Regions from separate parts of the Homo sapiens genome. Here all the other regions are linked to region 1. Evidence: promoter capture Hi-C in human tissues and cell types (Jung and others, 2019). All regions are on one chromosome and are shown on one strand. Each heading gives the region's core, a stretch centred on a gene start or on the middle of the fragment in contact. The rest is flanking DNA. Distances are from core to core; before and after follow the strand shown. Region 1 holds the start of TEX14 (testis expressed 14, intercellular bridge forming factor). Region 2 overlaps USP32 (ubiquitin specific peptidase 32). Region 3 overlaps MSI2 (musashi RNA binding protein 2). Region 4 overlaps PPM1D (protein phosphatase, Mg2+/Mn2+ dependent 1D).

The links. Contacts are between HindIII fragments. The study calls those that stand out against the background at their distance.
Region 2: a contact is called between a fragment that was not itself captured here and the fragment with the promoter of TEX14 in region 1, in 1 of the 25 tissues and cell types used here (aorta).
Region 3: a fragment that was not itself captured here is called in contact with the fragment with the promoter of TEX14 in region 1 in 1 of the 25 tissues and cell types used here (bladder).
Region 4: a contact is called between a fragment that was not itself captured here and the fragment with the promoter of TEX14 in region 1, in 1 of the 25 tissues and cell types used here (hippocampus).

What each region holds. Positions count from the first base shown.
Region 1 is chr17:58,689,033-58,693,308 of GRCh38, forward strand. It overlaps TEX14 (testis expressed 14, intercellular bridge forming factor), which reads right to left and starts at 3,013. Exons shown (of 32, transcript NM_031272.5): 1 at 2,907-3,013. It overlaps IGBP1C (IGBP1 family member C), which reads right to left and starts at 3,013. Exons shown (of 2, transcript NM_001395966.1): 1 at 2,907-3,013. It overlaps RAD51C (RAD51 paralog C), which reads left to right and starts at 3,570. Exons shown (of 9, transcript NM_058216.3): 1 at 3,570-3,756. The coding sequence starts at 3,612. RefSeq lists enhancers at 3,328-3,427, 3,758-3,927. The HindIII fragment of the contact is 12,262 bases long and covers 1-4,276 here.
Region 2 is chr17:60,259,745-60,264,200 of GRCh38, forward strand. The region is part of intron 9 of USP32 (ubiquitin specific peptidase 32); the gene reads right to left. Among named protein-coding and RNA genes, the nearest start is that of CA4, 110 kb to the left of the region's middle. The HindIII fragment of the contact is 5,233 bases long and covers 1-4,456 here.
Region 3 is chr17:57,358,948-57,363,476 of GRCh38, forward strand. All of the region lies in intron 5 of MSI2 (musashi RNA binding protein 2), which reads left to right. Among named protein-coding and RNA genes, the nearest start is that of MSI2, 100 kb to the left of the region's middle. The HindIII fragment of the contact is 4,832 bases long and covers 1-4,239 here.
Region 4 is chr17:60,629,521-60,633,886 of GRCh38, forward strand. PPM1D (protein phosphatase, Mg2+/Mn2+ dependent 1D) reads left to right here. Exons shown (of 6, transcript NM_003620.4): 3 at 4,333-4,366. Among named protein-coding and RNA genes, the nearest start is that of PPM1D, 32 kb to the left of the region's middle. The HindIII fragment of the contact is 6,347 bases long and covers 1-4,366 here.

The DNA of each region.
Region 1 (4,276 bases), core at 1,763-4,262:
CCATTCTCCTGCCTCAGCCTCCCAAGTAGCTGGGACTACAGGTGCCTGCCACCACACCCGGCTAATTTTTTGTATTTTTAGTAGAGATGGGGTTTCACCGTGTTAGCCAGGATAGTCTATCTCCTGATCTCGTGATCCGCCCACCTCGGCCTCCCAAAGTGCTGTGAAACAGGCGTGAGACATCACGCTCAGCTAATTTATTTATTTTTAGAGGGAGTCTCTCTCTGTTTCCAGGCTAGAGTGCAGTGGCCTGATCTCACTCACTGCAACCTCTGCCTCCTGGGTTCAAGCTATTCTCCTGCCTCAGCCTCCTAAGTAGCTGGGACTATAGGCACACATCAACATGCCCAGCTAATTTTTGTGTTTTTAGTAGAGACAGGGTTTCGTCATGTTGGCCAGGATGGTCTTGATCTCTTGACCTCATGATCCACCCGCCTTGGCCTCCCAAAGTGCTAGGATTACAGGAGTGAGCCACCGTGCCCGGCCTACCCCATGTTTTATTAAAGTTTATTTTCTTTTTCAAAAATTTTAATGATTTATCCACACTACACAGATGTAATGTCTGCTTAATATAAACCATTTCAAATGACTTAGGTAAATCATTTAACTCTTCCCTCCCTGAAAGATTTTTTTTGAGAAAAGTGATTACACAAGAAGGTGCACCTTCCATATTTATCCCATAGCTTTGTTTAGTTCCTAGTGCGTGGTTTCAAAAACCTGGATCCCAGTTTGAAAGCATGACTACAGAGCAAATTGCATTAAAGACATCTTAAGAATGATGATGAAAATAATTATTATAGGCAAGGGCCAGAAGATTTTTTTTTTTTTTTTTTCTGAGATGGAGTCTCGCTCTGTCGCCCAGGCTGGAATGTGGTGGCGTGATCTAGGCTCACTGCAAGCTCCGCCTCCTGGGTTCATGCAATTCTCCTGCCTCAGCCTCCCGAGTAGCTGGGACTACAGGCGCCCACCACCGCACCCAGCTAATTTTTTGTATTTTTAGTAGAGACGGGGTTTCATCATGTTAGCCAGGATGGTCTCGATCTCCTGACCTTGTGATCTGCAGAAGATATTAATAGCACTTAAATTATACAGCTATAGATAGAGTTGAGTGGGGGTTTTTTTGTTTTTTTTATTTTGCTTTGTTTTGTTTTTGAGATGGAGTCTCGCTCTGTCGCCCAGATTGGAGTGGAGTTACGCAATCTCAGCTCACTGCAACCTCAACCTCCCGGGCTCAATTGGTTCTCCCACCTCAGCCTCCCAAGTAGCTGGGACTAGAGGCATGTACCACCATGCTGGCTAATTTTTGTATTTTTTGTAGAGATGGGGTTTTGCCCTGTTGCCCAGGCTGGTCTCAAACTCCTGAGATCAAGCGATGTGCCCTCTTTGGCCTCCCAAAGTGCTTGGATTCCAGGCTTAAGCCACTGTGCCAGGCCAAAGTAGTTTTGAACTTTCCACTGTCAACGAAAGAAATTCTAAACACGACTGATTCCACTGAGTTTGACCAAACTAACTGAAGACTTATTGTTGAATGTGGTAATACCATGTTTTTTCTTCACCCAAGAATCTGGGTGCTTTATAAGCATAAGCATGAAATCTCCCTGAAGATAGTATTTATGCATCCACTGAGCGCTCAAATATAGACCATATTAGAAGTTAAGCAATGGGTTGAGTGGCCAACCACATTTTGGCCAGTCCTACAAGACTTTCTTTGACCTACCAAATGGGGTATAAATGCTTCTCGTATTCTCCCCGCCAGTAGGGACTCAAAATCTTAATAGCTCGGGGTAGTAAAAAGGATGCTAGGTTTGAATCTTGGCTTTAAGAAAACTGTGCTGAGGTGTTTTGTTTGTTTGAGACAGGGTTTCACTCTATCACCCAAGCTGGAGTGCAGTGGCGTGATCATAGCTCACTCCCAGGCTGAAGGGATCCTCCCACCACAGACTTCTGAGTAGCTGGGACGACCGGTGCATGCCACCATGCCCGGCTAATTTTTTGTACTTTTGGTACAGACAGTGTTTCGCCATGTTGTCGAGGCTGGTCTCAAACTCATGAGCTCAAAGAGATCCACCTGCCTCGACCTCCCAAAGTGCTGGGATTACAGGCACGAGCCACTGCGCCCGGCCAGCTTTTTTTCTTTTATCAGAATTGATATTAAACTATATGCTGAGCTTCCATGTCCTTATCTTCCTTTTGGCATGGCTATGGCCATTTGAAATGTGTGGGATTTGCTAAAGTGCTCAACATACGTTGTTTCCTTTTTTAGATCTAAGTATGTAGAGGGCTCTGATTTGCAATATTTAGAAAGTTCTTCTAAGCTGGGAAGAAAAGTCAAGACTAAGAATCATTGCCAACAGGGCCGGGCGCGGTGGCTCACGCCTGTACTCCCAGCATTTTGGGAGGCCGAGGCAGGCGGATCACGAGGTCAGGAGTTCGAGACCAGCCTGGCCAATATGGTGAAACCCCTTCTCTAATAATAATACAAAAATTAGCCGGGCATGGTGGCGTGCGCCTGTAATCCCAGGTACTCAAGAGGCTGAGGCAGGAGACTCACTTGAACCCGGGAGGCGAAGGTTGCAGTGAGCCGACATCGTGCCACTGCACTCCATCATGGGCAACACAGTGAGACTCTGTCTCAAAAAAAAAAAAAAAAAAATCGCCAATAGGTAGGGAATAAGTTACCCCCTGCTAAATAAGTTACACTCACCTAGGCAAGGAAGGAACTCATAAACCACCTTCTAAACTGCTTGCCTTCCTCCCCGAAGTTCTGTAATTTAGAGGCGGTCACTACCACTGCTTGAACACCCCTTCCCAAGTCTGTACCACAAAAGGAGCTCTTGTGTAGCCCAGCCCCTCCTTCTCAGGACCCCAGGAGCCCAGACACACTAATGGGGACATTAGTTGCTTACTTTTCCAGCTACTGCTTAAGCTAGGCAGGCCATGAAGAAATAACGGTCTCAGTAACCTCCATGCTCGGGATACGACTCCCGGGAAGACGTGGGTGGGTGCGGGGAATGCGGACTGATCCCTCCCAGCGGCCGTTGGGGGCTGGCCCACAATCCCTCGCGAGGGCGGGAAAAGCAATGTGGTCGTTGCGGGGGGGGGGGGTCAGAAAAGGGGGACGGTCAGCGGGAAGAGCCAAGAGACTGCAACTCTACAAAGAGCACGCAGATTAATTCTAATGATTGTTCCCTGAGCTTTTCACACCAAAATAATGGTAACTGGCTAGTGTGTGCCCGTTACGCTCACTACTCCCACTCGAGATCATTCCTATTAATGACTCTGAGGCTTCACCTAACAGGCCACGGTGGAGGCAAGGAAATGTGGCGTGGAGAACCCACTGGGCCTGGCTCTCCGTCCTATGGTCTCCGTCCATCGTTTTACAGTCAGGGTGTACATTTGATGAGGAATCTCTAAATGGGATTTTGGGGAATCAAAACGGAATGGTGCATAAGTGTGAAAATTTACAAGACTGCGCAAAGCTGCAAGGCCCGGAGCCCCGTGCGGCCAGGCCGCAGAGCCGGCCCCTTCCGCTTTACGTCTGACGTCACGCCGCACGCCCCAGCGAGGGCGTGCGGAGTTTGGCTGCTCCGGGGTTAGCAGGTGAGCCTGCGATGCGCGGGAAGACGTTCCGCTTTGAAATGCAGCGGGATTTGGTGAGTTTCCCGCTGTCTCCAGCGGTGCGGGTGAAGCTGGTGTCTGCGGGGTTCCAGACTGCTGAGGAACTCCTAGAGGTGAAACCCTCCGAGCTTAGCAAAGGTAACGACTCCTGATGGCAAGCTGAGGCACACCGGCCGCCGTCAGCGCCGCCTCAGTCTTCGTTCTCTCGCCTCGGCCTTCAGCCCAGTCTCCGTTAGATTCTGCTTCCTCCCACGTCCATGTTTACAGCGTGAAAGAGCTCCTCGACTCCACTTACAAGTTGTCTGAATGGTTAGGAGAACTGTGGTCGTGAAAACATTTACTAATTGCTTTTCCTCTGGCAATGCCTGCTGAATGCTTTGAGGATTGTCTCATTTAACCCTCAACCCGCTTACGTAGATTATTATATTCAGTATATGGATGAGAGAACTGATATCTTGGGGAGCTTAGGTAACTTTTCATGCTAACTGGGTTAGGAAATACTGGAGTCAGAATTGGTTGTCTAATTTTTGCTGTTCCAAGATCCAAGGGGTAAGGGTTAAATTTCAGAAATGCAGGATTTTGTGTAGGACTAGAGACACTAAGAATGAGAAAGAGAGTAGAATCCCCGGAATCTTGAGGAAGCATAGAAAGAATATTC
Region 2 (4,456 bases), core at 1,119-3,618, 1.6 Mb after region 1:
AACCCATCACCACTATGACTGCTGCTGTCACTCACTAATTCACCAAAAACTGGGTAAATAATTATCTTGTTTTTATCAATCTTTCTTAGATCTGTTTATAGTTCACATTTATTTCAAAGCTTAATATTAGAAGTGCTTGGGGTCTTTATTTAGAAGTTTGGTGATATTTTTGTGACTAGAAATATGCTGTAGGAACTTAACTCTTGTTTGCCTATGGTAAAATTAGTTTTGTTCTATACCCTTTCACTTAAAGTTGCAGTTTCCAAGAACCTAAAGACAACATTAAGTGAGTACTAACTGTACAAGAAGTTAAAGGCATCTGGAACTGTAATACATTATGAACAAAAGAATCTTTGACTTAAGAGACCTGTTGTTCATATTACAATGCTATCAGAACCATCAATTACTAGATAACCATCCATCATTAGTATTCCTCTTGCCTTTGAAAATGACTTTTTGGCTATAGCAATATGGTTTTAAAAGATACAGGAATAGGCTGGGTGCGGTGGCTCATGCCTGTAATCCCAGCACTTTGGGAGGCTGAGGCAGGTGGATCACCTGAGGTCAGGAGTTCGAGAGCAGCCTGGCCAACATGGTGAAACCTAGTCTCTACTAAAAATACAAAAAAATTAGCTGGGTGTGGTGGCGGGTGCCTGTAATCCCAGCTACTCAGGAGGCTGAGGCATGAGAATCATTTGAACCCAGGAGGCGGAGGTTGAAGTGAGCCAAAATCACGCTATTACACTCCAGCCTGGGTGACAAGAGCAAGACTTTAAAAAAAAAAAAAAATACAGGAATAAATCATAGCATAATCATAATGGAATACTATGCAGAGGATAAAAAGACTAAGTTAATCTATATATAATTTTCTATCTAGCATATGAAAGATGCTTAGTAAACATTTTACTAAGTTTATGAAGTAAACATTTATTTACTAAGCATCTTTCATATGCTAGATAGAAAATTATATACAGATTTAGGAAAATTCAGAAAAAAATTATTGCATAATCGCTTATACAGTATTATTCAATTTTTAAATATAGAACACACACACAATACATATAAATTTCTCCTACACTTGATAGTAGTCAGAATAGTATATCTTCCCCTCTAACATCCATTGAGAATAACTAAAATTTTAATTCTTAAAACAAAACAAAAAAAACCCAGAAGAACTGCAAGCTCTGCCACATCATGTATCTCAGTCATGAGGAGGCAAAAGAGAAACATGTCACATAACTTAATGAACTCTACGGGTGAGGATATGATCTGATAAATTTCAACTCATTCAGGAGTTTTACACTGAACAGTCACGACTAAAATTCCAGGACAGAAAAATGAAGAATGCCAACAGAGGGAGAAGCTATGTTGAACATAGGCTATATTTCAAAATGCTACTTGTTTATCTTTGAAGTAATAATTGTCAATGATTCTGCACTGATGACAAAATTAACAGCTAGTGTAAACCCATTTTAATTTTATAGGACTCAGCATCTAGAACAGATAGGAAAATCACAGTGAAATATGAAAATGTAATAACTTCTATTAATTTTATTGTTTGAAAATCTAAAATGCTACTAATAAAACTAAAATAAAGGCTGTTTAAAAAGTACAAATGTAGGCCAGGCACGGTGGCTCACACTTGTAATCCTAGCACTTTGGGAGGCCAAGGCGGGTGGATCACTTAAGGTCAGGAGTTTGAGACCAGCCTGGGTAACATGGCAAAACCCGTCTCTACTAAAAATACAAAAATTAGCCAGGTGTGGTGGTGCAAGCCTGTAATCCCAGCTACTTGGAAGGCTGAGGCAGGAGCATCACTTGAACCCAGGACGTAGAGGTTCCAGTGAGCCGAGATCATTCCACTGCACTCCAGCCTGGGTGACAGAGCAAGACTATCTCAAAAAAACAAAAATAAAAACAAAAACAAAAACAAAAAAACAAAAAAAGGACAAATGTAATTTGATATGTGTGATAAATTATTAATACATGGTATAAGAACCTTTTATATCTAACAGAACAAAATATAAAATGCTCAAGATGGTAAAAAGTATTTTTAAGATGATAATCTGATTCTTTTATATAACCACAAATATTCAAGGAACAATTTTCAGGTACACTGACCTCAAAGATATGTTAATACTGTCCAAAAGGAAAGAAACGTCATGAAAAGAAATAATAGATACCACCGTACAGAATCATCATGCATACAATGATGATCAAAAGCCCATTTGCTATACTGACACCTGAGTAATAATTAACACACTGTAAAAACATATAGAGCATTATGCTTAAAATCTAGAACTGTAAATGGATTTTATTTTCTCCCAATTTAATGGATGTTTTACTGACTGCAGTTAGGACTACTGCTAAGCAAGGTATCATATGAACTTTTTCTAAAGCAAATTCACTGACTATATGGCTTATTTATTTTGTTTTATGTATGTATGTATGTATTTATTTATTTGAGACAGAGTTTCACTCTTGTTATTCAGGCTGGAGTGCAATGGTGTCATCTTGGCTCACTGCAACCTCCGCCTCCCAGGTTCAAGCAAAGCTCCTGCGTCAGCCTCCTGAGTAGCTGGAATTACAGATGCCCAACACCATGCCCGGCTAATTTTTGTATTTTTAGTAGAGACAGGGTTTCGCCATGTTGGCCAGGCTGGTCTCGAACTCCTGACCTCAGGTGATCCGCCCACTGTGGCCTCCCAAAGTGCTGGGATTACAGGCGTGAGCCACCATGCCCAACCTATATGACTTATTTGTAAATGTCCTCCGTTTAAATGTGGCCCTGATTTTCAAAATAGTGTCAGCTGATCACTTGCTCTGTTCTACTTGAATCTTTGGAGGTTTCTCCATAGTTTGGTATAAAGTTCAACTCCTGAGTTTTGTACCCAAGGCCCTTCAAGATACGTCTCCAATCCAGGTCTACAGCCTTCAATATATGAATCTGTTATTCCAGCCACATCAGAATATTTGCAGTTCTAGGACTACACAGGATGTTTTACTGTACAGTCCTATACAGTAATAATGTCTTCTATTCTACCCCTAGTTGTTACCTCTTTTAGGAATCACCTTTCAACTTTTTACTTCTGTTAACCATAATTAACTAATTATTAAAGTGCCACATCCCAGCAGAAATCTTCTGGACTTTCAAAGTTCAATTTACATGGTTCCCTTTCTATCCTCTCACCGTAATACTTGGTGCTAACCTTTTTTTTTTTCCAGACAAGTTCTCATTCTGTTGCTCAGCCTGTAGTGCAGTGGTGTAATCATGGCACACTGCAGCCTTGACCTCCCAGGCTCAAATGATCCTCTCGCCTCAGCCTCCCTTGTAGCTGGAACTATAGACATGTGCTACTGTGCCTGGCTACGTTTTTTCTTTTTTTAGAGATAGAGTCTCGTTATGTTACCCAGGCTGGTCGAGAGCTCCTGGGCTCAAGTGATTCTCCCACCTCAGCCTTCCAAAGTGCTGGGATTATAGATGAGAACTACCATGCCCAGCCTCAACTTCTAACATAGCCCTGATCACACTTGTCTATCTTTACCTGTATACTACAAACTATCCAAGGGTAACATCTAGATCTCTTGAGCCACTACAGAGTATCATTAAATAGTCAACAGATGAATTAGATAAAACAGAGAAGAGTTGGAAGTCAGAAAAAGAATGAGTAATGTTGGTACAATCTAGTCACCAGCGAATATGGTTAATAGGCTTGGTTAAAAAACCCAAGTTCTATCCCAAACTATTACTATTTCATTATCATGGTTACATGGAAATGAAGCAGCTAAATGATCTTGTTTAATGTTCACAGAAGAGCCAGAAGTAGAAACTCCATCTAACATAAAAGGCGACAGCAAAAATACCTACATACTTATGAAACACTTAGAAAAAAGGTGTTCAAAATTTTATCTCTACACAAGGCATTTTCTAACAGAAACTTTTCCTGGTTTTTGTTCTCATACACACGAAATAGAAGTCGATACCTTAGTTTCTGGCAGAGAGGAGAAAGAAGGGGACTGAATTGTCAAAGCTCTAGCCTGAAACTCATTTCTATTATTTGTTTCTATTGAGAATCAGTTAATAGGGCCATTAACAATTTCTTCTGAAATTGTGATTGAAGAAAGAAAAAAAACTGACGTTCTTTATTTATTCTAAACCTCTATTTAATAACACCATTGTGGTGTAGATCCTACCAATCTGCGACTTGGTACATGTCAATGCTTCAGTAGAAAGACTCCAATTTATGCAAATGTGTCTCATACAGGTAATTTATTTTCAATTTCACAGGGACACATAGACATCATAGTAATGCAAGCTATAGGAGTAAATCTATTATGATAACATTACTAATAAATGTTACCAAACTAAATAAGTCAAGGATTTTTTTTTAATTTATAAAGTACATGTTTATTTTTGCTATTACATGCTTATTCTGGCTACCACTAAAGGACACAG
Region 3 (4,529 bases), core at 574-3,073, 1.3 Mb before region 1:
CGATTGGTTTTATAGAGGGCAACTCTGTTCACCCACAAAAGTCTCTTGATGCCATTGCTGGCCAGAACTTGGGTGGGAGAATGGGAACTGTTCAGCAGAGCAGGTGAACAGGTGGTCCTGCCATCCCAGTGGCAGGGGCCCCTTCCTTTCTCCCGCCACTCCCGGAGGAATGACCCTGCATCTTATGCACTCTCTCCGATTCCCCAAATCCCCTAGGTCCCACTGCTTGGGTTTGGGGAGTGGGGCACATCTCTGCTGAGAGCCAGCCCATCAAGCTGTCTGGGTCTCATGGTGGCATATCTTTGTTCCAACTCAATATGGGCATTTTAATCTTTATTTATTTTTAAAATTTAATTTTATTGAATTCAGCTTTAATATTATTGAATTCAGCTACAAGGGAGATAGAATAGGGTGATTGATAGTTAAGAGCATGGGTCTTAAAGTCAGAAAGACAAAGGCTCCAAGTCCAGTTACCAACTTCTGTAATTCTGTAATTCTGGGGGGCGGACTTACCTGTCTGAGTCTTAGTTTCTTCAACTATAAAATGGATGTCCCAGTACTGCCTCCCTGCCAAGGTTGTCTGAGTGAGTCCTCAATAAAAGCTGGTAGTGAGATTAATAGCACTTGATGGCAAAGTTTGTACCCAGTCATGGGTAGGGGAATTGCATCTGCCATCCAGTGGCTGAGGTCAAGTGATGACACCCCAAACTATAGGATCCTGGCAGCTACAGCAGGCATTGCTGCTTCCCTTTCGGAAATCCCAATTGTTGAGGCCCTGGCTGAAGCCCTGTCGAGCCCTTGGTGACCCCACTACCATTTCCTTTATGGTTGGCTTACTCTGCTTTCTTTTGCAATGAATATAGTTTAAAATTTCTTTATGAGTGTTCTCCTATTTGCTGCCTTAGCCTGTCACCCACTATGCTGAGCTCCCCACCCCTCGTGATGCCACTCAGCACCTTTATTTGTGATGTGGGGTATTCTGGGAAACTCTTCACAGGCAACTCAGGGAGCCTGGCCCTCCATCTTATCTCTTAGGAAATCCTCAGGTGTCCCAGGGTTTGGCACCAGAGAAGTGCTGTAGACCCTGTTTTCCAGAAAGCTCCGTGCCTTCACGTGTGGTGAGGGAGTGGCTGCCCAGAGCAGGCGAGGAGGCACTGGGGGTTGCACCCATGTTTTATTATGATGGGGGCTTCAGAAGCCAGATGTCTGCAGCTACTTGGAGCAAGCCTGGGTCTTCCTTAGACTGCAGTTTTAGGACTTAAGGAAGGAGCTGGGCTGCTGCCACATGCTCGTGCTTGTGTGTTTAATTTGTTTATTGGTGGATTTTCTACCCTGCCTCACATCAGAAAGGGCTTGAGGCCCAGGGGTATAATAGGTGAAACTTTTTCTCTTGAACAGTTTTGCCTTTTCCTAACTTCTCCGAGCCTCTGATCTCTAGGAGAGGCTAGTCAGCCCTTGGTTTAGGGGCTCTCCCTTGCTGAGTAGGGTTTTGGCTTTGTTGGGGCTGTCCAAGGGCTCCAGGTTCCACTTTTAGCTGCACAGCTGACTTGTCTCTTGTCCCCAGATGCTCTCCTGGCCCGTGAGGGCCATAGCATCTCAACTCATTTAATCTGGTAGCACTGAGGTGGGCAGTGTTTCTGAGTGTTTTGTGTGAACCCATGAAGAGAAAATGTTAGAACTAGGCTTTATGCCCATGGAGTGATTCTTCTACAGTTTCTTAGTTCTATTAAATTTTAAAAATATCTTATTGCTTCCACAGAAGAGAAATTTTTAGAATATGGGAAGAGCGAATATAACATTTTGTTCAATATTAAAAGTTAATTTAAGACAGAACCAGAGGCCAAGACAAGTGTCTTCTCTTTTCTTCATTTGGTGATATAATTGACCCTTTGTACCTGCGTACAACTTAATATTCATTCAGCAGAGGCTAATTATGGGATGCGTAGATGCCACATGGTTAAGGTGAAGATGCAGATTTCTGTGTGAGCTGCTTAATTCTGACGGTTATAACTTGTCCATAAAATTTGCTATGGATTGTAACAAGTGGAATATTAACTCGGAATATGGGGAGGTCAGGAGTATCTCCCATCTGCTTCCTTTCTGAAGGGATCCTAGCTGAACTGAGTGGGGGGTATGTTGTGCACAGTTAATATGTTGTTGACACTTGAACAACTCAAGGGTTACGGCCCCCCTGCACAGTTGAAAATCTGCGTATAACTTTTGAGTACCCCAAAATGTAACTACTTAACCTATCATCAACTAGAGCCTACTGATAACATCAACAGTTGATTACACATGCTTTATATATGTATTATATACTGCATTTTTACAATAAAGTAAGCTAGACAAAAGAAAATGTTAAGAAAATCATGGCTGAGTGCAGTAGCTCATGCTTGTAAACCCAGTACTTTGGAAGGCCAAGGCGGGCAGATGGACTGAGCTCAGAAGTTCGAGACAGCCTGGATAACATGGTGAAACCCTGTCTTTACAAAAAATAAAAAAAAAAAAATTAGCCTGGGCATGGTGGCTCATGCCTGTAGTCCCAGCTACTCAGGATACTGAGGTGGGAGGATGACTTGAACCCAGGATGCAGAGGTTACATTGAGGCAAGATCATGCCACTGCACTCAAGCCTGGGTGACAGAGCAAGACCTTGTCTCAAAAAAAAAAAAAAAAAGGAAAATCATAAGGAAGAGAAAATATATTTACTATTCTTTAAGTGGAAGTGGATCATCATAAAGGACTTCAGACTTGTTATCTTCACATTGAGTGGGCTGATGAGAAGGAAGAAGAGGGATGGTTTTGCTGTCTCAGGGGTGCAGAGGTGGAAGAAAATCCACATATAAGTGGACCCACATGGTTTACACTTGTGTTGTTCAAGGTTTGACTGTACGTTCTGAGCCCAAAATTGGAACACATGCCCTAAGGCCCTGTCCTGGATCATTTTATATATGTGTATGGTCAGGCTTACAAAGATAGAAAAATGGAATTCCATTTTCTTACATATTTCTACAAATTATTTTGGTCAAAATCTAGAAAATACATAAAACTGAGGTCTCCTGGAAAAGCCAGAATTTATCTCTGGGATTGGGATAATTGGCTATTAGGAAAGGGGTCTACCTTGTTGGCCTGTGGTCTTGACTTTTCCTTCTGGAACTGAGAATATGTGAATGGCTCGTGGAACTGCACGGAACCCAGTGGTGGGCAGTATCTTTGTAAACAAAATGAGGTTGGCTTTCAATGGCCAGGGAATGAATGTGGAACCAAATTGCAGTTTGTAGAAACAGAGCTGGGCTCAGACATTTAAATTAAACGTATATTTCTATTTGCACTTCCATTTTGTTCGGTAATAGTGTTGGATATGGGAAATCTTGTCTTTGTTTATATTTGAGGGAACTGCAGCCTTCATTTCCTAAACGGAAGATCCTGTGGCATTCCTGCAATGGAAGCTCACCAGATGATCAGAAAAGGGAGAGATGGCGAAGTAACTTGTCTCTGGTTACCCTCCCATTGTGGAAATTAATATCTGACCCAATTCTGTTTGCCCAGTGAGTTTATGGCTTGCTAAGTGGCTGTTGTAATGATCCGTCAACTGTTGCAACAGCATTTTCTAACAATTTTATTTTACAGTTCTGAAGTTTTAGTCCATAAATTTTTTGAACTTAAGGCTTTGAGTTGGAGGAGCCATGTGGTTCTAGGGGGGAAAAAAGTGCCAGATTTATTCTTTATGTCTGTGAGCTGTGCCTTCCCCCCATTCTTTTCCCTCTTTACATGCCACCCCTCTGATATTTTCTACTTGAAAAAAAAATTCATACTAAAGTGCTTGTCTTTGTATAATGCTACTCATAGAATATTTGTATGAAAAAAGAGTCAGGAGATGCGATGTTCAACCCAAGTGCATGAATTATGATTATAAAGTTTCCATTTAAAAATGAAGGCTGTTGGAACCCTTACGTGTTGCTGATGGAAATATAAAATGGTGTAGCCACTGTACAAAGCACTGTGGTAGTTTCTCAAAAAATTAAACATAGATTTATTGTGTGGTCAGCAGTTCTACTTCTGGTTATATACATGAGAGATTTGGAGGCAGGGACTTGAACAGACATGTGTATACCCACATACATTGCAGCATTATTCACAATAGCCAAAAGGTGGAAACAACCCAAATGTCCATTGATACACGAATGGATAAACAAAATGTGATAGACATATGATTAAATAGTATTCAGCCTTGAAAAGGAAGGCAATTCCGATAGATGCTACAATGTGGATGGACCTTGAAGACGTGCTAAGTGAAATCAGCCTGTTACAAAAGGAGATTATGGCTCCTCCTATATGAGGTTCCTAGAGCAGTCAAATCCATAGAGCTCCCCACCCCTTATGACATCACTCAGCAACTTTATTTATTAGGTCACAAGGGGGTGGGGAGCTCTGTGACAAAAAGAGCTCTGTGACAGAAAGAGTGGCGATTTTATGTTATGGATATTTTACCACTGTAAAAACATAATAGGCTGGGCATGGTAGCTCACG
Region 4 (4,366 bases), core at 661-3,160, 1.9 Mb after region 1:
TGTGATTGTGAAGGTGAGAATATATCTGACATCTCTGCTGGTTGTCATGCTAAGTGGGCTTTGCAAATTATAAACAGAATTCTTCCATATATTTGGGTCTTTTCTGGGCTATAATTTTTTTCCTGCTTATTTACCAGTATTATAATTTTTAAAACGGAGACTTTATTATAATTTTAAATATTGGTAGGCCTGATTCCTTCTCATTAATCTTCCTTTTAAAAAATACTTTTCTTGGGGCCGGGCACAGTGGCTTACGCTTATAATCCCAGCACTTTGGGAGCCTGAGGCGGGCGGATCACCGGAGGTCAGGAGTTCGAGACAAGCCGGGCCAACATGGCGAAACCCTATCTCTACTAAAAATACAAAAATATTATCCAGGCGTAGTGGCATGTTCCCGTAATCCCAGCTACTCGGGAGGCTGAGGGAGGAGAATCTCTTGAACCTGGGAGGCAGAGGTTGCAGTGAGCCAAGATCCTGCCTCTGCACTCCAGCCTGCCCAACAAGAGTGAAAACTGTCTCAAAAAAAATAAAATAAAATAAAGCAGCTGGCTGCGGCACTTGTAATCCTAGCGCTTTGGAGGCCAAGATGGGAGGATCACTTGAGGTTAGAAGTTTGAGACCAACCTGTTCAACATAGCGGGACCTCCATCTCTAAAAAATTTTTTTATAATTATAAATAAATAAAATAAATGAACAAAAAAGGAAATAATTATTTTCTACAGAAGAAATTACCCTTTTGTGTTTTAAAAATACCTTTCTTGACTATTCTTTCTTGTTTGTTTTTTTACTTGAATTTTAAAATTATATTTTATTTGATTTTAATAATGTTTTTAGAAAGAGTTTTTTGGCTTTATTACCAAAAACACCATCTGGACAGTTGGGCAGATACTCCGCTATTTTGGAGCAGGTAACTTTTTGCAAAAATTGAGCTATTTTATTATAAGTTATTTCCTTGCTTCCCTCTGTCCCGGCCTAGGCAACGGGCCAGCATTTTGTTTTTCCAGCCTTCTGTTGCTGCTCAGTCAGCTCTCTGCGTGTCAGGCTGTTCCTTTTTACATGCCTTTTAATCATATAGGACAACAACAGGAAGTGCAGTAAAAGCATCTTTTATAACATTGCTTTGGTTTTTTGTTACTAGATGTTGAAACTTCTATGTTTTAACCAGTATCATTATTTGTCTTTTTGTTTCTCAGAAACACAGATCATAATATCTTTGAATATTAAGTGTCGAGAGAGCTGCTCGTCTAGTTATGTTGGAAGCAGCTACTGTAAATTACTTAGGTACTAAGCCTTACCTTGTAAGGAGAAGGTTTAGCAAAGAATAATAGAGCTTTAAGATGGTATTAAGGCAGAATGTTGGCATCTTATAACTCTTGTGTTTCATGGATTCTTGTGAATGGCAAGTTTAGTCTTTACTCTGCTGTTGACTTTTGAGAGTCATCATTGAAGAAAGCTTAATACAACAAAATGAATGCCTTTGATATTTTAACTCTTGTTATGATCAACCTATTTATATCAGAACTTATTTAAACTAGTTCTTGGCTGGGCATGGTGGCTCACGCCTGTAATCCCAGCATGTTGGGAGGCCCGGATGGGAGGATGGCTTGAGCCCAGGAGTTTAAGACCAGCCTGGCAAACATAGTGAGATCTGTTCTCTACAAAAAAATTACATGCCTTTGGTCCCAGCTATTTGGGAAGCTGAGGTGGGAGCATCACTTGAGCCTGGGAAGTCAAAGCTGTGGTGAGCCACGATCACACCACTGCACTGCAGCCTGGGCAACAGAACGACACCCTGTCTCAAAACCAAATGAAAACTAGTTCTCAAAAGGGATGGTAGGCTGGGCATGGTGACTCATGCCTGTAAGACTAGCACTTTGGGAGGCTGAGGCAGGCAGATTACTTGAGGCCAGGAGTTCGAGACCAGCCTGGCTAATATGGTTAAACCCCGTCTCTACTAAAAATAAAAAAATTAGCCGGGCATTGTGGCGGGTGCCTGTAATCCTAGCTACTCAGGAGGCTGAGGCTGCAGTGAGTTAAGATCACACCACTGCACTCCAGCCTAGGTAACAGAGCGAGACTGTCTCCAAAAAAAAAAGGGTGGGGGGATGGTGAATGAGCAACTTTCTGGAATTTCTCTTCTTTGTTAACACCCACAATGTTTTCTGGTCATTCTCTACTTGTTTCAGTCTTCCTCTGGACTGTTCAGTATACTCACCACTAGCCACAAATGGCTGTTTAAATTAATAAAAATTAAATTTAAAAAATCAATTCCCATTTGAAGTAAAGCTCATTTCGGTCATGCCAGGCATAGTTTGAGAGACCATCTCTAATGTTTTGATTATCAGTGTTTTTTCCTAAAGAACTAATCATATTTCAGGCCGGGCGCGGTGGCTCACGCCTGTAATCCCAGCACTTTGGGAGGCCGAGGTGGGTGGATCACGAGGTCAGGAGATCGAGACCATCCTGGCTAACCTGGTGAAACCCCGTGTCTACTAAAAATACAAAAAATTAGCCAGGCATGGTGGCAGGTGCCTGTAGTCCCAGCTACTCATAGTCCCAGCTACTCGGGAGGCTGAGGCAGGAGAATGGCATGAACCCGGGAGGCGGAGCTTGCAGTGAGCTGAGATCGCACCACTGCACTCCAGCCTGGGTGACAGAGCCAGACTCTGTCTCAAAAACAAAAAAAAAAACCTAATCATATTTCCAAGTTTTAGGCATTTCTTTTGCTCCTATGACACATTTTAGGAGGGTTTTCTTACTCTTGTAACTCCCAAATCTATATGTCTACAGCTGATCTATTTCACAAAGTCTAGTCTCAAACTTTGAATTACAGAAATACCTAAATATATAGTATTTTCTGTATATTGCTGAAATCATATTAAAACTGCCAACAATTAGCTGGGCATGGTGGCACATGCCTGTATTCTCAGCTACTCAGGAGACTGAGGTGGGAGGATCACTGCAGCCCAGGAGGAAGTCAAGCCTGCAGTGAACCATGAGTGCACCACTGCACTCCAGCCTGGGCGACAGAGACCCTGTATCAGAAAACAAAAAACAGGCTGGGCGCTGTGGCTCACACCTGTAATCCCAGCACTTTGGGAGACTGAAGTGGGAGGATGGCTTAAGCCCAGGACCAGCCCAGGCAACATAGTGAGACCCCGTCTCCTCAAAAAAGAAAAAATTAGGCAGGCGTGGTGGCCCACGTGGTGGCTCCCAGCACTTTGGGAGGCTGAGGTCAAGAGTTCGAGACCAGCCTGGCCAACATGGTGAAACCCTGTCTCTACTAAAAATACAAAAATTAGCAGGCGTGGTAGCGTGTGCCTGTAGTTCCAGCTACTTGGGAGGCTGAGGCAGAATAATCGCTTGAACCCAGGAGGCGGAAGTTGCAGTGAGTCGAGATGGTGCCACTGCACTCCAGTCTGGACAACAAGAGCAAAACTCCATCTCAAAATAAATAAATAAAAATAAACAAAAAAACTGGCTGGGCACGGTGGCTGACGTCAGCCTGTAATCCCATCACTTTGGGAGGCCGAGGTGGGCAGATCACTTGAGGTTGGGAGTTCAAGACCAGCCTGGCCAACATGCTGAAACCCCATCTCTGCTAAAAATACAAAAATAGCCAGGCATGGTAGCATACGCCTGTAATCCAAGCTACTCGGGAGGCTTAGGCAGGAGAATCGCTTGAACCCAGGAGGTGGAGGTTGTGGTGAGCTGAGATCACACCATTGTGCTCCAGCTTGGGCAACAGAGTGAGACTCCATCTCAAAAACAACAACAACAACAAAAATTAAAACTGAAGTTCTGCTGTTTCGCCCGTCCTCAACATAAACACTCAGAACCCTATAACCTTTCCTTTTTAATTGCTTATATCACAATTTAATGCCTATTTATTTATTTATTTATTGAGACAAGAGTCTCGCTCTGTCATCCAGGCTGGAGTACAGTGGTGTGATTCTCGGCTCACTGCAGCCTCTGCCTCCCGAGTTCAAGCAGTTCTCTCTCCACTTAGATAAGGCCTTCTGTCAACCCCCAATTGTTTACTAATTAGGTAGTGTTGCTTTTTTTTTGACATGGTATTTATACTTACTTTTCTTCACATTACATTCATTTGGTTATACTGCCTATTCCAGTAATCTCAAAATTTTCCACTTTGAATCTACCCTAATTCCTCTCTGAACAGGAATTTTGGCTTATGCATCTTTGTATTTGAAACACATAAGACATTATTTTGTAATAATGTAGTCTTATTTTATTAGTGATTTAATATACTGAGCTATCTTAGTTGTTGTATTTTAATCATTTAGATTATTTATGTGAACTCTTTATTTTTAGTGTAATGAACAAGTCTGGGGTGAATCGTGTAGTT